Linked DNA regions of Homo sapiens: region 2 is linked to region 1. Evidence: promoter capture Hi-C in 16 types of primary human blood cells and fetal thymus (Javierre and others, 2016). All regions are on one chromosome and are shown on one strand. Each heading gives the region's core, a stretch centred on a gene start or on the middle of the fragment in contact. The rest is flanking DNA. Distances are from core to core; before and after follow the strand shown.

Region 1 (2,948 bases), core at 216-2,715:
ACCAGGCAAACTGCAAATTATTCTCAGTGCTAAGAAGGGAAAAAACTGAGCAGCAGAAAAATGTGTAGCCCCTTTTCTGGAGCTTTCTTTCTTATGAAGAGAGGTCTGGACTACAACGGGGGGGCTGTGTGTGTGAGGGATTCACAGCTCTAGCTTTGGATCTCCCAAAGAGGGGTCCGGAGCAGACTGTGGCACCCCAAGCCAGTCACTGAATCCCCATATTTTATGGTTAAGCAGCCAAACATGCCAATTCACTCTCTAGGCTCTGCTAGATAAACAATGCCCTTACTCAGTTACCAAAGAGGAATTAAAGCCTGTTTCTCAAGTCACCATGAGAAAGCAGAAAAGAGAGGAAGTCACTTCCGTATTAGGTGCTCGCAGCATTCATCCATGAAGCGTTTCATGATTTTCTTAAAAAATATTACTTGTTCTCAACAAAACATAGACACAAGGCTCGTCTACTCTGCACTGCAGAGGACAGAAGAGCTAAGTATTAATAAATAATCCTTCTTTGTATTTTCCAAGTTCTCTCCAATGTAAACAACTCAAGCCCAGGAAAATCCAGTATTTAACAGTGTACCAACCCTGTGCTTTCATGGGCACCGGCTTTTACCCACCCGGTGCGTCTGGCGGTGGCTGTCCAGCAGGCCGGGCACCTGCCGCCCACGGAGTTGTCCCACTGGGCACCGCAGGGCTCAAGGGCGATGGCAGCACTGGCAGCTTCTGGTCAGAGCTAGCTGATGTCCCCGCTCTGCAGACATCAGCCCAACAAAATTGCATCTCGCTGACCACAAACTGGCCACGTGGAAGTCAGCTCGAAGCTCTACCCTGAATCTCTCCTGAACTCAAAGGCTCTGAAAGCTGCCTCGACCCATGAAGGTGCACAGAGGGGCTCCCGCGGGCTGCCCACAGCCCGTCCCGGGTGCGGGGTCTGAGGGCGCAGCCGACCCCACCCTGGGCGGAGGGCGAGGCTGGGGCTCCGGCTTCGTGCCCCACGGCTCGCAAGGACCCGTCAGTACCGCCCGCACCGCTGACCCCAGCACCGAGCCCCTCACGGCTGACCCCAGCTCCTCACGGCTGCCCCCGGCCCTGCTCCCTCACGGCCGACCCGGGCCCCGTTCCCCTCACGGTCGCCGCTGGCCCTGCGCCTCTCACGGCCGACCCGGGCCCCGCTCCCCTCACGGCTGTCCCTGGCCCCAACATCCGGCACCTGCGCTCATTCCTCCCGGAACGAGCCGCCCGGGGCACCGCCACCCGGTCCGCGTCCCGGAACGGGAGACCCGGGGAAATCGGGGCGCCGGGGCCTCTGGAGGGCGCTTGCGCCGCGCCCGGGCTCCGCGCCGTCCTCACCGTGGAAGTCGCCCGTGTCGGCCACCACGGTGGTGAACTGCTTGAGCTGGTCCAGCGCGGACTCCATCCTCTGACGCTTCACGGGTGAGCTCGACATAGCAAGACCGAGGGGTCTGCGGCGGCGGCGGCGGCGACGGGACGGGCGCGCGGACGGCCCACAATGCCCCGCGGGCGGCTGCCAATCGGAAAGCGGCGCGGGAGGGCGAGGCCCGCTGGTCCCTGCGCGCCTGGACGAAGCCCCGCCCCCGGGGACGAAGCCCGAGCGCCACTGCCGGCCGCGCACCGCAGCTGCGGATCCTACAGGCTGGGTCTCCCCAGGTCCTCAGCAGCCGCCGCGGACGGGCCCGGGAAAACACCTGCACGACACGGGGCGGCTGGGCCTCGCCTCCTTCCTGCCCCGCGGGACGCACCGGGAGGGCTGGAGGAGATGGACCTGGCCCGGGTGCCGACTCTGCGGGGCTGAACCCGCCAGGGCCGAACCCGGCGATGCAGGATCCATGGTGGGGCCAGGACTGGGGTCGGGGGCCGCTGCAGGAAGCAGGGGAGGGAGCGGCGGGGGACGCCCTGCGGGTGCAGGAGGCAGAGCAGGGGGCGGCTGCAGAGCCCGGGCGCCGGACGCGGCGGGGAACCTGCTTCTGGGAATCTGTTCCCCTGAGTCCTAAGCCCAGAGGTGTCCGGGGGACCGAACGGCGAGGCAGGCGTAGGAGGCCCAGCTGCCCTGCTTCTTACCATCGCTGACTTGCAGAGTTCCTTGTATATTCTGATCAAGTCTCTGTCGCTTGTGTCTGCGTTGCAGACACTGTAACCGCCCCATGGGTTCGCCTTGCCAGCTGCCGGGACAGAGTCTATTGTCAAGACAGGGGAATTGCAATAGAGAAAGCATAATTCACACAGAGCCGATTGTTCGGGAGACCAGAGTTTTATTCCTCAAATCAGTCTCCCCAAAACTCGGGGATCCCAGTATTTAAGAATAATTTGGTGGGTAGGGGGCCAGTGAGTCAGAAGTGCTGACTGGTCAGCTAGGGATGAAATCACAGGGAGTCGAAGCTGTCCGCTTATGCTGAGTCAGTCCCTGGGTAGAGGCCACACAACTGGTTGGCAGGTCCAGGTGGGGCCATCCGGTTGTCAGAAATGCAAAAACCTGAAAAGACTTTTTTTTTTTTTTGAGACGGAATCTCGCCCTTGTTGCCCAGGCTGGAGTGCAGTGGCGCGATCTTGGCTAACTACAACCTCCGCCTCCCGGGTTCGAGCGATTTTCCTGCCTCAGCCTCCCGAGTAGCTGGAATTACAGGCGCTCACCACCACGCCCGGCTAATTTTTGTATTTTTAGTACAGACGGGGTTTCATCATGTTGGCCAGCATGGTCTCGATCTCCTGACCTCGTGATCCGCCCACCTCAGTCTCCCAAAGTGCTGGGATTCCAGGCGTGAGCCACCGCGCCCGGCGGAAAAGACTTCTTAAAAGGCAAATCCTAGGCTGACGCGGTGGCTCAGGCCTGGAATCCCAGCACATTGAAAGGCCAAAGCAGGCGATCACTTGAGGTCAGGAGTTGGAGACCAGCGTGGCCAACATGCAAAACCCCGTCTCTACTAAAAATA
Region 2 (3,023 bases), core at 394-2,893, 530 kb after region 1:
AGAAAATCTGTTCTTTCCAGCATGAAATACATTTAGTCTCCTCAAAGGGACTGCAGGTGTTGACATGAGTTGGAAAGGGAACCCTGGGATACGTGGCGTCCCCTCTATTGGAACAGTCTGAGGACTGAAGGCATTTGTCCCTGGATTTATTGGAGACGGCCCAGCTCCTCCCTCTGAAGGTGGTCACATTCTGTTGACTCTCCATACTCAGCCTCTCCTCCAGAAACAGATCTGTTCCAGAACATTCCAGCACTTTCTATCTGGCCTCCTTGTCCCCACACTACGCCCCCCCACCCTCGCCAGGGCTTCCTCTAGTGACACTGTTAGAGCTAATCTCTGAGACAGGGAAGGCATTACTCACTTAAAACCCAGGCTGAGTCCTGGCCACCTGCTGGATTGTGACATAGGAGGTGGAATCCACTGAACTGCTACTTCTGCACAGGCTCCTTCTCCTGGGGCTGTACCCAGGCCCAGCCCTGATGGCTCACCCTGTCAGGCACCAGCTGCTCCCTCCTGGGCTCTCACCCACCTGCACATCCTCCTTCCTAGCATCACATTACCTGCGTGTTTCCCCAGACAAAAGCACTTCCCATTCTTGAACCTTGCCTACCCTGGGCTGAGCTGACGGCAATAGATTTAATGACAGTGACTCCCAGGAAGGGGGTCCTGTGACTTTGCGCCTTAATAAGAACAAAAGGTGGAATTGGTGACCTAGGAAAACTGTTGAATTCTAAAAAGAATGAAGTTAGTTTCTAACCCTAGTTAATGTTCCTTTTTTATTTTTTGAGTCTTGCCCTGTCACTCAGGGTGGAGTGCGGTGTTATGATCTCAGCTCACTGCAACTTCCGCCTCCCGGGTTTAAGCGATTCTCCTGGGTAGCTGGGATTACAGGTGTGTCCCACCACACCTAGCACATGGGCATATTTGTAATAGAGACAAGGTTTTGCTATGTTGGCCAGGCTGGTCTCGAACTCCTGGCTTCAAGTGATCCACCCACCTCGGCCTCCCAAAGTGCTGGGATTACAGGCATGAGCCACTGTGCCTGGCCCCTTTATTTGATAATTTACACATACATTTTTGTCCAAAACTCTTCTTTATTTCAAGATGATGTTTCTGTGGCTATGTGTGGTATGTGGTATAAATCTCAATCTATGGTCACACGAGGGGCATTTTCCTTGTTGTAAGTGTAGTCTAAACCAGTAGGAAGGAGGTTTAATTGCCAAAACCAGCGAGAACTCGGGCACTGTGGATACTACAGTGGGCAGCTGAACGAGGACCAAGGAGAATGTCTAAGAGGCCTCCAGCCCTGCGCTCAGTGAAGACAGGACAGGAACAACAGAGCATACATACCTTGGAAGGGTGTGTTCTGATATACTCGTATGGAAAGTTCTGACAGGTTTTCTCCCTGGGAAGTGCAGCACATACCCCAACACACTGGCTCTGCCAGTGTGCCAATCCCAGATGGTGCTTGCTTTGTGTGCACCCACACCCAAACCCCTGCCCTCCCATATGCTCTTCTGTGTGCCCAGGTAGGCCCTGCCCTCAGGCAGCAGCTTCTGAACACATTCCTCTTGGCGCAGACAAAAGAAAGTACTTCGTCTGTGGAATTCGAGGCTGAGCCTGAGTTCTAGCACAAGAAGACCGTTGCAGTCCAGAGATGAGAAACTGGACCAGAGGCAAATCATGAACAGAACGGGAGTCAAGAGAAGGGGTTTCTAAGATGGAGAAGTGGGGGCGGGTGTGGATCCAGTGGGATGTGGCTTCCCCAGGTTGCAACCCCAAGGAAGTCTCTGGAAGCAGCACCAGTCCTGATGGGGGAGCAGAAGAGCTGCCATCCTCAGTCAGGGTCCGAGTCAGGGTCCGAGGAGAGCTGCTGCTCCATAGTCTCGCACATGGCATCCTGCAGGGACGTAAGATGACCCCGGGGACTCATCCCCATTGGCTGGATGACTCTGTTCCTGTTGGGGAAAGGTGCAGTGGGGCTGGGGAAGGGGCCCAGTTGGCCAGGCAGGGGTCCTACTCACCCGTGGCTGCTACCTTCCTCTCTACCAAGTAGGCTGCTCCCATTTACTGGGGAAGCCTGGTTGGACCTTCTGTTAACTGGGCCCAAACCCTAACTGCTGCCTCCTGGCTTTAAGCAGTTTCCTATTTTAAACATCTAAATTGGCCTTAAGCAGGCTCTTAATTTGGACACTGGGCCATCTCCAATAAATCTGGCGACATTAGTCTCTTTTTTTTTTTTGAGACGAAGTCTCACTCTGTTGCCAGGCTGGAGTGCGGTGGCACAATGTCAGCTCACTGCAAGCTCTGCCTCCTGGGTTCAAGTGATTCCCCTGCCTCAACCTCCCGAGCAGCTGGGACTACAGGCGCCCACCACCACGCCCAGCTAACTTTTTTTTTGTATTTTAGCAGAGATGGGGTTTCACCATGTTGGCCAGGATGGTCTCGATCTCCTGACCTTGTGATCTACCTGCCTCAGTCTCCCAAAGTGCTGGGATTATAGGCGTGAGCTACCACGCCCGGCCTTAGACAGTCTCTTAATTTCTCTGGGCCTCAGTTATCATCTGTAAAAGGGGCACAATACTGATCTCAATATACCCATCCCCTGGGGGATTTCCTCCAGGGCAAGTGATTTCAAACGTGAGCAATGCAACCTAATACCAGGATCCTAAGCTCTCCTCTGATCCTACCTCCTGGGGCTCACAAGACAGGATGTGGGTCAGCTCTCCCTTCTCCCAGCTGCAGGCCCCTCCTCCTCATGCCACACACCTGGAGAGCTTGTCAAACATGGTCACCAGCTTCATGGCCTCGTGCTCCTTCTGCTCCTCTGTCATGCCCTCCATAGGGTTAGGCGGCTTCTCCTCCACCCTCCCGGTCACAGGGTTTATGCTGTTTCCCAGTGGGTGGAATGTGGGGAATGCATTAGTGACTCTCCAGGACAGGAGGCAAGCCACCTATTTTCCCAGTGGGGTGAGGTGGGCAAGGCAACTGCAGGAAGAGGCCTCCCTCCAGAAGCGGCACAG

What was found. Contacts are between HindIII fragments. The CHiCAGO score rates a contact against its expected background, and 5 or more counts as called.
Region 2: a fragment that was not itself captured here is called in contact with the fragment with the promoter of TALDO1 in region 1 in 1 of 17 cell types (neutrophils); the score reaches 5.5 in neutrophils.

Annotation. Positions count from the first base shown.
Region 1 is chr11:745,981-748,928 of GRCh38, reverse strand. TALDO1 (transaldolase 1) reads right to left here and starts at 1,465. Exons shown (of 8, transcript NM_006755.2): 1 at 1,351-1,465. The coding sequence starts at 1,447. LOC105376509 (a long non-coding RNA gene) reads right to left here. Exons shown (of 3, transcript XR_930962.3): 3 at 1,967-2,180. RefSeq lists silencers at 865-954, 1,055-1,344, 1,405-2,004 and enhancers at 1,184-1,832, 2,135-2,194, 1,833-2,481. The HindIII fragment of the contact is 13,110 bases long and covers 1-2,948 here.
Region 2 is chr11:213,165-216,187 of GRCh38, reverse strand. It overlaps RIC8A (RIC8 guanine nucleotide exchange factor A), which reads right to left. Exons shown (of 10, transcript NM_001286134.2): 9 at 2,770-2,889; 10 at 1,075-1,958. The coding sequence ends at 1,838. SIRT3 (sirtuin 3) reads left to right here. Exons shown (of 7, transcript NM_012239.6): 7 at 1-1,158. Among named protein-coding and RNA genes, the nearest start is that of MIR6743, 5.3 kb to the right of the region's middle. The HindIII fragment of the contact is 3,738 bases long and covers 1-3,023 here.